2 separate regions of the Homo sapiens genome follow, and region 1 is linked to region 2. The links are contacts of gene promoters, found by promoter capture Hi-C in blood cells and fetal thymus (Javierre and others, 2016). All regions are on one chromosome and are shown on one strand. Each heading gives the region's core, a stretch centred on a gene start or on the middle of the fragment in contact. The rest is flanking DNA. Distances are from core to core; before and after follow the strand shown. Region 1 overlaps TMEM196 (transmembrane protein 196). Region 2 holds the start of ITGB8 (integrin subunit beta 8).

Evidence for each region. Contacts are between HindIII fragments. The CHiCAGO score rates a contact against its expected background, and 5 or more counts as called.
Region 1: a contact is called between a fragment that was not itself captured here and the fragment with the promoter of ITGB8 in region 2, in 1 of 17 cell types (total B cells). The highest score is 5.6, in total B cells.

What each region holds. Positions count from the first base shown.
Region 1 is chr7:19,728,284-19,734,973 of GRCh38, reverse strand. TMEM196 (transmembrane protein 196) reads left to right here. Exons shown (of 5, transcript NM_001363562.2): 2 at 5,536-5,592. The region is part of intron 1 of LOC107986774 (a long non-coding RNA gene); the gene reads right to left. Among named protein-coding and RNA genes, the nearest start is that of POLR1F, 23 kb to the right of the region's middle. The HindIII fragment of the contact is 2,448 bases long and covers 3,490-5,937 here.
Region 2 is chr7:20,325,503-20,332,149 of GRCh38, reverse strand. ITGB8 (integrin subunit beta 8) reads right to left here and starts at 1,250. Exons shown (of 14, transcript NM_002214.3): 1 at 217-1,250. The coding sequence starts at 343. It overlaps ITGB8-AS1 (ITGB8 antisense RNA 1), which reads left to right and starts at 388. Exons shown (of 3, transcript NR_110120.1): 1 at 388-500; 2 at 2,637-2,783; 3 at 3,294-3,849. RefSeq lists silencers at 290-529, 1,000-1,389 and enhancers at 1,470-1,759, 1,860-1,929, 2,017-2,629. The HindIII fragment of the contact is 8,395 bases long and covers 1-4,459 here.

The sequences.
Region 1 (6,690 bases), core at 3,464-5,963, 600 kb after region 2:
ATATATTTACTGTTTTTTATTTTGTGCTTTTGTTATTTCATTCCTTTCCTGTCTGATAGCTTTCCCTATTTATTGTCCTGAATACTACTTCCAGTAATTCTTTTAGTTTTATGTGGAATAATATTTTTGAGCCTGTATTAGTTTCCTGTTGCTTCTGTAACAACTTTCTGCAAATTTCGTGGCTTAAAACAACGGAAATTAGTTTTCTCACAGTTCTGAGAGGCAGAAGTCTAAAATTAGTCTTTAGGGCTACATTCTTTCTGGAGGCTCCAGGGAGAATCAAATTCCTTGTCCTCTCCAGTGCCCAGAGGTCACCTACATCCTTTGCCTCATAGCCCCTTTGCCTCTCTTCAAAGCAAACAGCGTAGCATCTTCAAATTTCTTCTCCCTGTCTCTTTGTTTCTGTCAACACATAGGCTTCTGCTTCTTTTGACCTTGCCTACCTCTTAAATGACCCTTGTGATTACATTTAAGGCATCCCTGGATAATCTGCAATAATCTCCCCATCTCAAGAAACTTAATTCAATCACATTGGCAAAGCCTTTTTTACCCTATAATATTCATGGGTTATGGGGGTTAGAAGATGGACATATTTGGAGGGCCATAATTCAGTCTACCACCATGCCCTTGGCCAAGTGAACATGTCGTTCTTATAATCTCTTGCTTAAGTAAGAGTTTGGCTGGATATACATTGAAAAGTTTGAAAGTCATTTTTTTTCAGTATTTTGTATTTTATCTTAATATCTACTTTTAGGCTGTTAGTGTGAGAAGTGGAGTCAGTCTGGTGTCAGGAACTAAATGTTGTTTGGCTGTGATTATCTGTGGTGCAAAATAGTCTTCACATTCCTCTAGTGGTGGGCTGTAGTTGCCTTGTGCTTATGTGCTGGAAATTTTTTTTGATGTGAGTGCCCCACCTTCAGCTTGAGCCCCTGTTCATCTTCATCACAGGGTTGGGGTGGAGGGTATCCTCCCATGCTGTTGTCTCCCCCTCATTGGTAGACTGCTGTCAGTTGTTACTCCCAACTGCTAACTCATGGTGAGTGAAGGTGGGGCTGAAGGAGAAAGTGTTTTGTTGTTGTCAACCAGTTTCAGTTTAGGAAGTCCTTGTGCGCCTGATCTCAGGTGTGGGGCTTTCTCAGTATTCTGTACCTTCCTTCCTGAGACAATTAAACTTAGCCTTATATCTGGGGTTGATCTTGGGCGAGAGGCTCCTGCCTCTTCTCCAATGGTCAATGTCCTCTACTTCGTATAGGCATAGGATGCCAGGCCCAAGATGAATTCCTGCCTCTCCCTCTGTATTTTTTTTTTTTTTTAAAAAAGGATCTTCTACTTTTCCTCCAGTTAGAGTGGCAATCTATATTTGAATAGGCCCTGGAAATGAGAAGCTTTGCTACCCTTCTGCCAGAAGCCTAAGCCTTTTGCTTCATAAAAAAGAAGGTCTAGGGAAGGAGCAGGGCTTTACACCTCCCTCAACACAAACAAATGTGTGATGACCAGTGTCTCTTCCTCCCTTACTCTGCAACAGGTGACATAGTGTCAGACCTTTCTTGGAGAAGATTTCCCTCTTTGAATTGAAGTTATCTCATTGTCTTGGAATCTCAACCAGCTCTCTGATGGGCTCTAAAATATCATTTCCTTACTGTAAGAGTGGAAATGACATCTTTGCATCTTTCTGTGTCCTAAGCAAAAGCAGAAACCTCCAAGGACTTTACATAAAGAAAATCCACTCAAAGTGTAAAATACTGTCTTCATAATCATGTCATTTCGTCCAACACGTCACAATCTTAGTTTTCTATTGAATATAATCTAAATTGGAATCAAATGAAGTTCGCTTGGAGGATGAACTAATTTTATTTTATTGTGTAGCACTAGATGCCTTATCATTAGATTGCTACATTTATATCATTTCACAGTAAGATCAACGCAAATAATCCTCCCTGGATTTAAACATCCCATCTTCTCACAAATAAAATCATATTTTCTCATGGTTCAGGCTTTACACATATGCACATACATACAGCTATCAGCTTTACTTTTTTAGCTAATTTGTTTTTTACTTGCTTAATAATTGCCATGATGTGGGTAAGTGCTTTGCATCCTGGATAAAGTTATGTTGAACAAAAGAAAGTGTATTTTGAAATATTATAACAAATTCCTTTATAAAATAAGATGCATTTAATTTTAGAATGTAACACAATTGACTGATGTTCTTATTATTTTGATTACATCAGAAGTTATATCATAAATTAACAATGGTCTTGCAGTTGTAGGTGAGTAGGTATTCATTGAACACTTCTAGTTGGATTTGCTAGTATAACCTACACTGAACTAACACACACAAAAAAAAAAAACTCTAAAAATCACTTCCATTCCGTTTTTTTTTTTTTTGTTTTTTTTTTTTGAGATGGAGTCTTGATCTGTCACCCAGGCTGGAGTGCAGTGATGCGATCTCGGCTCACTGCAAGCTCCGCCTCCTGGGTTCAAGTGATTCTGCTGCCTCCCCCTCCAGAGTAGCTGCGACTACAGGTGACTGCAACCACGCCCGGCTAATTTTTGTATTTTTAGTAGAGACGGAGTTTCACCATATTGGCCAGGCTGGTCTCAAACTCCTGACCTTGTGATCCGCCCACCTCAGCCTCCCAACATGCTGGGGTTACAGGTGTGAGCCACCATGCCCAGCCCATTATTAAAAACAAATTAATTTAGACACTTAATAAAGTCTTAAATTAGATGTGTGATTTCTGACCTTGATGTGTTACCTTGAGCAAGTCACTAACTCTCTGGACCTCTCTGGACCATGTCCCCACGTGTAAACTTCGAGGGATTAATTAAATCATCTTTTAAGATCTCTTCCAGTATTATGACTTGTGGTAAATAAAGATAGCCAATGAAATAAAATATCAATTTACTACTTTGGGGGCCTCTTTTTCTCTTTTCTATAAACTGTGGTGGCTAAATTTCAACCAAGATCTTTTAGATCCTCCTCATAAATCCCATGATTTCATATACTTCCTGTTACATGTGTCCACTTTTTCTCAGGTTACAGCTTTTCTCTAGGACATGTGATTTTGGATACTCTAACAGAAGTAACAGTTGGAGAGTATTTACATTCATCTGCTGAAAGTAGAAAAAATATTGATTGATTCCTCCCCTACTCTCCCTTCCCTCTCCCAATCCTTGAATTCACATTTCTTAGCTCCATCCAATTGAAGTGAGATAATACAAAATAGCAAATTTATTGCCACCTAGATGTTCTAACCAAATGGTTGGATGGAGAACTCTGCTTATGCTCCTGACCACCTCTTGGGCTTTACTGTAAATGAATAATGGCAGTGTTTACAGATTTCAAAACAGATGCAAGGAACACAAAACTACACTGCTTTCAAATTCTTTTCGAATGAGTTCTGGATAAATGGGACTTTCAGGATGAAAATGGGGTAGTCAGGGAAACTTAAGGAGAAGAGTATGCTTGAGCTTTGATCTGAAGCTTGAAGCACTGAAAGGTACAGAATTGGTCCAAACTGGAATTTCTTGAGCACTGCCTTCAAAAATGTGAGATGAAATTAGTAACAGAAAGAGTCCATAAGAGGACATGATCATCTACACTTAGGACACAGTGGGTGGTGAGAAACGGTCACTCTGAAATAGCTTTTTAAGGCTACTGAAAATTATGCAAGTATTCAGGTTTTATAAAGTTCTGAGTTTCTATCTTCTCATGGTTTTATAATACTAAAAATATTTTATTAGATCTATTTCTAAAGTATGTTAACTATTTGGCTATCATATACTTTCCGAATATAATCCCAACATTTTTTGCCTTTGAGTGTTATGTTTTTGACCGTCAAAATTAAATTTTTTCTATTAATAAATACTTTCTACTTTGGTTTATTACTTTGGTGCTACATTTAGAAAATCCTTTCCAGTCCTCTAAAATTATATAAATATTTAACTTTGTTGTCTCCCAATGCATTTAAGCATTTTTGTATAAATACTCAATTTTACATTAATTTTGGTGTATGTTAGGGAACGTTAACACATTATTCTAGCTCTATTTATTGGGCAAATAATCCTTTCCTTTCCATTAATATGAAAGGTCATCTAAATTATATACCAAATTCTTATATATTCTGTGTTCCCTATTTCTTCTTGCTGCCCCACTGCCTGCATAATAATCATTCTGCTCCCTTATAGGAAAAGTTTCTTTGCAACAACTTCCCTTACTTATTGCTTTTTAACAGATTTTCTTGGTACTTCTCACATGCATATTATCTCAGATAATCCTTAGTATATTTTGATATGTATTTGGAAATAAATCTATCCAGGTGTCAAATATTTAGTGAAACAAGCTATATTGTTAGTTCTGACTTCAGATAATTAAACAACAACGACAACAGTGAAAACTAGTTCTCTTTGCGAATAAAAATTTTCTTTACAAATCTGAAGTCCTTTAGTGGACTTCTTACTTCTTAATGAATATTTTATATAGCTATTTCAAGTTAGAAGTATGTGAAAACTTGCATTCAAATGGAACTGTTTCTATTCAAATTAAACTATTTATCATTTTATGATTACTAAAATATCTAATAGTCTCTCCTTGGTAGATAATCTGATGTGACTGCCTTTGCAAAGCAATTATGTCAACAATGTTTTATTTACAAGAAATAATATGCTATCAATTGCTTTATCCCTTTGTGTTCTTTTTTTTTTTTTTCTTTTTTGAGACGGAGTCTTGCTCCGTCACCCAGGCTGGAATGCAGTGGCGCGATCTTGGCTCACTGCAAGCCTCGCCTCCCAGGTTCACGCCATTCTCCTGCCTCAGCCTCCGGAATAGCTGGGATCATAGGCGCCTGCCACCACGCCCGGCTAATTTTTTGTATTTTTAGTAGAGACGGGGTTTCACCGTGTTAGCCAGGATGGTCTCGATCTCCTGACCTTGTGATCCGTCCACCATGACCTCCCAAAGTACTGGGATTACAGGTGTGAGCCACCGCGCCCAGCCTATCTCTTTGTGTTCTTCTGACATATCCATAAGGCCAGTTTCTTGTAGAATAAGGAGGTTGTCATTGTACCAATTGGAGTGGTACAAAGAGTATCTCTATAGAGAATCATCTCCTTGTCTGATGCATTATCTTTTGATTTGTGCAGATTCTTTCCTGTAGTATAACTTACTGATTTCTAGTTGTTAAGTGTGAATGAATGTATCACACCACTTTTCTCCCTGAGAAAGTAGAAAGGAATCAGACGGTGAAAAGAAATGGGAGAAACAAAGCTCTAAATTCATTTACTTAATAATTTTACCTGATGCTAAAACTGATTCAATTACCTCTAACAATCTAGCAAAAAATAAATTTTTATTAGGGTTTATACTTTTATCCTTTACTATTCTAGAATGAGATCTTATCCTCTCCAGGTTTTGAAGGAAATTTAAAATGTTCTATCTTCCCTGGAGAAAGTGTCATGAGTGAACTACAAGCTAAAATCTAGGGGTCCTCGTGTCTTTGGATAAGGAGTAATTGTTCTTCTTTTCCTTTTCAGTTTCTTCTTTGTGGCATTTGTGGAATATTGTGTGCCAAAAAAAAATCAGGACTTGTCGTAAGTGTTTGATTTGTTTGTATTGTGCATTGAGGTGTATGAAACGTAAAATTCTAAAATAGAAATGATGGCTAGCCAGCTTTCATATACTGAATATTGCTAGTTTGAGGCAAAAAAAAAAAAAACTGACAAATAAATCCTGCCTTTTCTGTTTTCAAAGAAAACCATCAAAATTATTAGAAACTATGACAAAAGCCCACCGATGTAAAAAAACTTTAATAAACTCTTTAAATATCTGAATATGCAACCTTTAATGACTGCTACGGATGACAGTCTCTAGTTTTCCAATCTGGAGACTGCCAGACAATCGCCTGAATCCTTCAGTAAGCTCAAGTAGATAAAGCTTCAGCCCATGAGAAATGTAACCATTTAAATATGGAACTGGGCCTAAGGATTATTGGCTTTCTTTGACTGTGAAGCAAGTTTTGCGAAGCAGCAAGACAGCTGTGTTGCTATGGTTACAGTTTAATTCTCAGAGATTTATTTTATTTTCTTTTATTACTGTGAATGCACACATAAGTGTTTTCAGATGTTTTATGGTACTATAGTGGGTTTCTGGGGTATGGAACACACTCCCAGTTAGCTCTGATATTGGCTGGATGAGCCACACTGCATGCTGAAGTGTGGATTCCCCATCGCCTTTCATGATTTTTCATAAGGGTTTGGAAATAAGGAAAAAGTGTGGTTTATTTTACCAAGTATTATGGGAAAGAACATAGACACAAATTGGCAAAATTAATACTACACAGGGACCCTAGGAAGTACCCTTTGAGCCTAAAGAGAGTTTTCCAAGGTGAGGCCAGTTATCTGAGCAGATCAGGGAATGGGAAGCATTGCAGTTATTTTTATTTGACCCCTTTTTCTAATCACATCTTTCTTCGTGAGAACATCTATTATGGCAAAAAGGCTAAAGCCCTCACTGCTTTAGACAGCAATTTTAGATGTAATTTTTAAAAATTACATAAAGGGAAAAATGAAACCTTTAGAAAAAAATGTATTTTTTCAGGCTTGTAACTTGCATTTATGATTCTCCCATCATTTTTTACACATGGTCTTCATTCTCCTTATGCCCTTCCTCTACGAAGACTCTTTATGACT
Region 2 (6,647 bases), core at 1-2,500:
TCTGATAATTAGTCCTTGCTGTCGCTCCAGGGCAGAAATGCTTGACACCTGGCCTCTAGGCCATCTGTGCTGGAGGACGCTGCCCCGCACCCGCCCCCTTGAAGTTCTCTGATGACCGCAACTTACCTGGCCGGGATGCTCTGGCCGGGCAGCTCTTCGTGCCAGCCCAAGACCTTTGGGGAAGAGAAGAAAACAAAACAAAACAAAACAACTTACCACCTTGGCCCAGTCCAAGAACAAGTGAAAACACCCAGGCTGCCCAGAGGAACGAGGCGGGACCTCGCCGGTCGTTTTGCAGGCAGACAAATGCAGCGGTAAAAAAAGCCAGGGCCGAGCCGCACATAATGCAAAACAGCCCGCCCCGCGCCCGCCGCCTGACTGCCTTCCGGACGCGGGCTCGCGCCTCCCGGGCGCACCTCGGGGCCCGCGGGCCGAGTGTCGCTAGGACGTTTTCCGCAGGCCTAGCAGGCGGACCCCGCGGCTCGGAGCAAGCGGTGCAGGTAAGCGGGCCCGGGCACCGCTCGGCATCTCAGGGCCCCTGCGGCCCTCCCGGCTCGGCACGGCGGGTCCCGCGGTCTCCGCGAGAAGCACCTCCTTCGACGGCCAAGGGCCCCGGCGGCGACTGGAGAGAGGGCTCTGCAAGGGCTCCGCAGCCTGCTCCGGGACAAAGAAAAGAGCTTTTGTTTCTCTCCAGCCGGTGGGGCTTCTGCTGCATAAATCAGCTTAGCGAAGAGCCAAACACAATCAAACCCAAACAAAGCCCGAAGCTGGGGGGGAAACCACCCTAATGTACATTCACTGGGTGATGCTGGATCTGTGGGAGGGGACGCCGGCGAGGTCGAGGGGAAAAAAGTCTGTGGCGCATCAATCAGCGCAGTTGCTTCCACAGGTGGGCAGGGAGGCCAACACCATTAGTTGCAGCTTTGCAGCCCCGTCTGCGGAGCAGCGGGCAAAGACAAGTCGGCAGCGTCCTGGCTGGCAAGGGAGGAAGCTCGGGATGCCAGCAACAGGGGGAGGCGGCTCTGGGAGCGCCCTAGAAGCACCCGCCGACACCCGCAGGCACAGAGCGAGGCATCGCCGCTCCCTCCCTGGCGGGGAGTGGGGCCTGCGGCTGCGAGCGCAGGAGGGGAGGTTCCGCGAGGTGCCGGAGCCCGGCTTCGCGGGGCGGGGGCTGCGTGCCCTTGTCCTTTTCGCCTCAGTGCGCGGCTCAGGCGTCCCGCAGTCCAGAGCCCGAGTTGCTGGCGCGCTCTGGGGTGCACACGGCTAGGATGCGAGAGAGGCGAGGCCGGCGATGGGCGGGAGAGGGGTGGTCCTGCTCTGGCCCCCCGGGGGGCTCCAGACCTGCGGGTAGCCGGGTGCACTCAGGGCAGAGAGTTGCTAGGAAACCTCCCCACGCTACCGGAGCGCCTCGCCTCGGCTGCCCGCAGGCGCGGCTGCAGCCCGGGCAGGAGCAGCAGTAACAGCTCGGAGCAGCGTGGGCGGGACATTGGTGAGGCATGAAGTCACCGCGGCCCACACTCGCTCTTTGTTTTGCTCACTCCAGCTCTTTCTTTTCCCCCTTGGCTCTGATAGTTGCCATTCCCATCGTTCACAAGAACTCCTGAAGCGTAGCCGCGCAACAGGAATGGCACGCCTCGTTCCCTTCTCCCTCCTCCCCCGAATCCTTGCACCCCAACGCTCGCGGGGGTGGTGGGAGACTCGCTCAGCGCCAGCGGCAGCTGCGAGCAAACCCCAATCTCTCACCCCCGCGCTGCTCGCCGCTTTGTTCGGAGATACTCACTGCCCCGCAGCTGCTGCATACAAAGTGGAGTCAAGGGACCTCCCCTGCCCCCAACGCCCTCTACTCAGCACTTTGCTTGCAGTTAGGAGCTCGTCCTCTACCCCACCACAAGGCTGCCCCGGTGTCCCTAGCCTTTGGAGAGTTGGACCAGTCTGCAGGGGCTGTTCCCGGAGCGACTGGCCGAGATTTCTCGCTGCTCCTTCTCTGCTCAAAACCTTAACCCTGGACTGGACAGCCCTGTTTTTCCCCAGCGTCTGGTGGTGGCTCTGGGCTTTTGCAAGTTACAGTGGGTCTTTTGATCTTAAGCGTCACCTTCCCAGTAAACGGAACAAAAAGTTACAGACAGCAGCAAAGCGGGGAGAGGGGAGCTAAGGAGAGAAAGTGGAAGGCACTTCTGCCTGCTTGCAGCTCAGAAATTTAGGTGCAAGTAGGGTGCGGGTGTTATGCTGGGCAACTGCCCGGAAGCAGCGCGCCTCCTCGGGTCCTGTCATTACCACGCTAAGTCGAGGGAGGGAACTCAGTCCCCCGCATTGGAAACAAGGCAGTGTTTCCAGTTTAACACGGTGATGGTTCTCTTTTCCCTCTAGGGGCAGGAGCGATTCCCATTCGAGGAGTTTGACCTCTCATTTTAATACAACACCCGCCTCTTAGAGGCAGCAGACCAGTCCAGCCAGGTCAAGGTGAAATATGCGGGAGTTTCCCCCCTTCTTATTTAATAGTTTCCGTCTCCTTATTTGTAGTTAAAAAAAAAAAAAAAAAAAAAGTAGGAGGCGCGGTCTCTCTCTTTCTTTCTGTTGACTGAGTGAATGGAAAGTACCTGGTTAATAAACCACAACATCGAAACTCCCCCTTTCAGGTGTGGACCGCACAACGGGGTGCACAGGATTAGTTAAGCAAAGCAGGAACCCAGCTGGAAAATTAAACGAGCCCTGGATCTGCAAAGCAGGTCCCTTCGCGAGACCAAAGCCGTGATCCCAACCTTAGCAACATAATTCTACTGGAGGTGATGTACTCTAAATAAATAGAAATAAATCCAGCTCCGCTTTAATATTTATTTCCTTTCCTTAGTTCCAAGTTTGAACAGTTATAGTTTTGTTTTTTGGTTGTCTTAAAGGAAAGGCCTAAAAATTAGTTAGGATGGGTGTGAGGACTTGAAAATTTGAACACAAAAATATCATATTCAATATCTGATTAGTGACTCTTCCATTGGGCAGCCTGGGTATTTTCCAGGGGTTATGTCACAGACCTACTGAATGCAGCCACCCTTGAGACATGCAGTGCTTCAATCAAAAAAAAAAAAAATTAAATCCCTAATTCCCATAAGGACATGTCAATACACTTTAAAGTGTCTATCATATCACCATTCCATAATATTCTAAAATACAACTCTTTGTTGCTGGGTTGTAAGTGGCAGTTACAGTAATAAATAAAATATAAATGTATGCAAACAAGAAAGGATGTAACTTTATGAAATTGATGAGGTATGCACTAATTTTTGTAACTCTGTTTTTAGGTGTTGATATATATACTAATCCAGAACAACCATGTAGCAAGAGGAATAAAATGAAGTTCAGAAGTCTGTTTCGGGAAATTTTGAAGCCCTTTAGAAAGAAAGATTTCTACATTTTGTTACATGAAATTCATGCAAATATATGTCAGGTGCCAGTGCTATGGAGTTGTTGAAGAATAAGCACAATACCATTTATTACCACTTCTCAGTTGTAAAGAGGCTGTAACTCTGGTTGTCGAAATAAAATAAAATGAAATCTCCTAGATGTGACACTGTGACCCCTGCCAGTTATTTACAAACAAGTTATCTGCACATTTTGGGCTGTAAACATAAAAGTAAACTCTCTGAAAGACTGCAAATCATCTTTAGGGTTTTCTTAAAGTAAATACAACTAGTGGCCCAGGAACCAAAAGTTTGCTTGTTTCCAGTTAATGTCACTGGTCACCATAACTCACCCTTTTTCCTATGAGGAAATGTACAGCATATTTTAAAGAAATGCAGTATTGTTATCTTCGTCATATTACCTGAAGAATTCTAATAAAGGAAAAATGTTTCGGAAGATGGTGACTTGATTAATTTGTTTTTCCATCATGTTCTGCTATATTGCTTTGAAATTTCTGACAGCTAATTTTTCATCATTTGTGGTAATGAGAGGAAATGAAATTCACAGATAGTCTAAAAATAACATTTTAGTTATTCATTCCAGGCTTCCTATCATTAGAGTCTTTGAGCTGAGTTACTAAAAAGTCATAAAATTAAATTACTTAAATTTCTTCCCTACTCCTTTAACCTTGATTTCTCACTAAGTGAGTTTATGGTGAGAATGAATAAGCTATAGATAGGTAGCAGGAGTGAGGGAGACACTCAGACTGTTTTTTAAGAAATGGAATCTTGCTATCTCACTATGTTGCCCAAACTGGCCTTGAACTCCTGGTTCAAGTTTGAACTCAAGCTATCCTCCCACCTCAGCCTTCTGTGTAGCTGGGATTATAGGTGTAAGACACCACATACAGCTGTGGCTATTCACACTTTAACTAGATGTGCCCAAATTATTGATCTCATAGTGGCACCTACAGACACATTTGAATTTTAATGTTACATCTTTTTGAAGTTGGGATCAGAGCCATTCAGTACGTTTTGGGTGGGTATTCACAAGTTATCTATAAGCTTGCCTGAGACATCTCAGAAGATGATTAATGGTCAGACCAGTGAGATATATTATTGTGACTATGACCTCTAGCTTCTTCTAATGATAAAGTACATAAATTGCTTGAAGGTATTTTTCACTGAATTGTTACATAAGACAGTGTTTCTCATACTGTAGACTGAAGACTGCATACAACACAATCCCCCATAGAGTAATTCTGAGTTCTAATTCCTTGTCTCTATTCCAGGAGATTCTGAATTAGTAGATCTTGTATGGTGCTCAGCAATCTGCATTATACCAAGGTCCTCAAATGGTTTTTATATGCTCTGAAGTTTAAGAACTTCCTACTTTAATGGGTTAATACAGAGACTCCTTAAAGGCCTCATGAGTGTTTAATAACAGAGATCAGTGTCAGGTGCAAATTCAAAGAAAAATGAACTGCTGGAGCCAGTGTCTCTTGCCAAGATAGTTTATGGATGACTCAATCTGTGAGATATTAATGTTTTCTGAAACAAGACTTCCATGATTAAGCTTGGGAAATGCTGAATTAAAGTCAAATTAAATCCCTTACTAGAGGAATTTCCGGAAACTCAATAGAGCAGCATGCCATTAGATTCTCCAAAGGAAGAAACCTGTATGAGAGAACATCTCACAGATTAATTTTCCTCGAAGCATGCTACAGAGCTAGCCCCATTTTACAAATGTGGAAACTGAGACAAAGACTGGCAAAGAAACCAACCTCACTTTTTCAAGGGAATTCATGAGCAGGCAGAAATCAGAGCTCTGATTCTCCTCAATTATCTCATATTGTGATGACTTCTAGTTTCAAGTAAAGAGTCAGATTATGGCTGTTCTAAGTAAAAAAGGAAACTATTGGCTGGGTGTGGTGGCTCACACCTGTAATCCCAGCACTTTGGGAGGCCAAGGCAGGAGAATCACCTGAGGTCAGGAGTTCGAGACCAGCCTGGCCAACATGGCAAAACCCGTCTCTACTAAAAATGTAAAATTAGCCTGGCATGGTGGCACACACATGTAGCCCCAGCTATGTGAGAGGCTGAGGCATGAGAATTGCTTAAACCCTGGAGGTGGAGGTTGCGATGAGCTGAAATTACATCACTGTACTCCAGCCTGGGTAACAGAATGACACACAGTCTCAAAAAAAAAAAAAAAAAGGAAATTCTTGAAAGAAAATTGGGAGCCCACAGAATCACAGAATCAGCAGGAAGCTGGGAGACTACGACTAACCAAGGCCAGAAAACACGGAGGCATAAGCAGTAGCAGGAAGTGTCTAACTCTTAAGAACAACTTTGAATCCTCCCTTTGCTTTGGATCACTTGCTCAAGATTCAAAATCCTTGTTGGGAATATCTAGTTTTCAGAATTTTCATCATATGTTAGTACACTGGCTTTCTGGGTGTGGGAAAAGGAGAGAAGGGGCTCTCATCTTCAGCTTTCTTGGTAGAAAATATGGGTACTTTTGAATGAAACATTTTATCCGTGCATAGTCTAATCCTGTGCACAGACCCTGTGCATAGTGTTATCCTTTTATAGCATGCAGTAAAATAATACTTGTTTAGTCTTTAACTCATCGTCAGAAAGATGATGTCCCTGGCTCACCACTTCATCACATACAACTGGAAGTCTGTGTGCTAGAAGTGCTAGGGAATGAACAACATTCCTGGGTGCTGTCTTAACTGTGCACCAACCAGATGGGAAGTGAGGTATAAATACCCCAGCTCCCCTGTTTCTTGTATGAAGTCACTTTAGGCCTTGTGTTCTACACTATTTTTGAGCTAGTTTTTAATTTTCAATCTATCATGGATTGATACTTAAATAACATAAAGTAAAAATGAATTATTGGAAAAATGGGTATCACTAAAATGTCAAATTGCTATAAAAGTTTCTTAGTACTTTTAATTTTTATACATTCTTTGTCCTGGGCCAGTCTCAAACAGTAGAAGGACTGGTACTGCCACACGTTACATTTTGAGTAATATTTAGCACCATTTTCCAAAGTTCCCCTGTAGGAGTAAGCTATACTTGGTCACAGTGATAATTGCATTCAAATAGATCCTTCGTTGGTTGTCTTTCCTTCCTTCATTTCCCTGTGACCCCCAATATTTCCTGGTGTCAGGGTCCTCTTCTGGAGAAAACTACATTAAGACAAGCAATAAATGTGACTGGAAACTAACCGCTGGTGTCCTGCCTGTA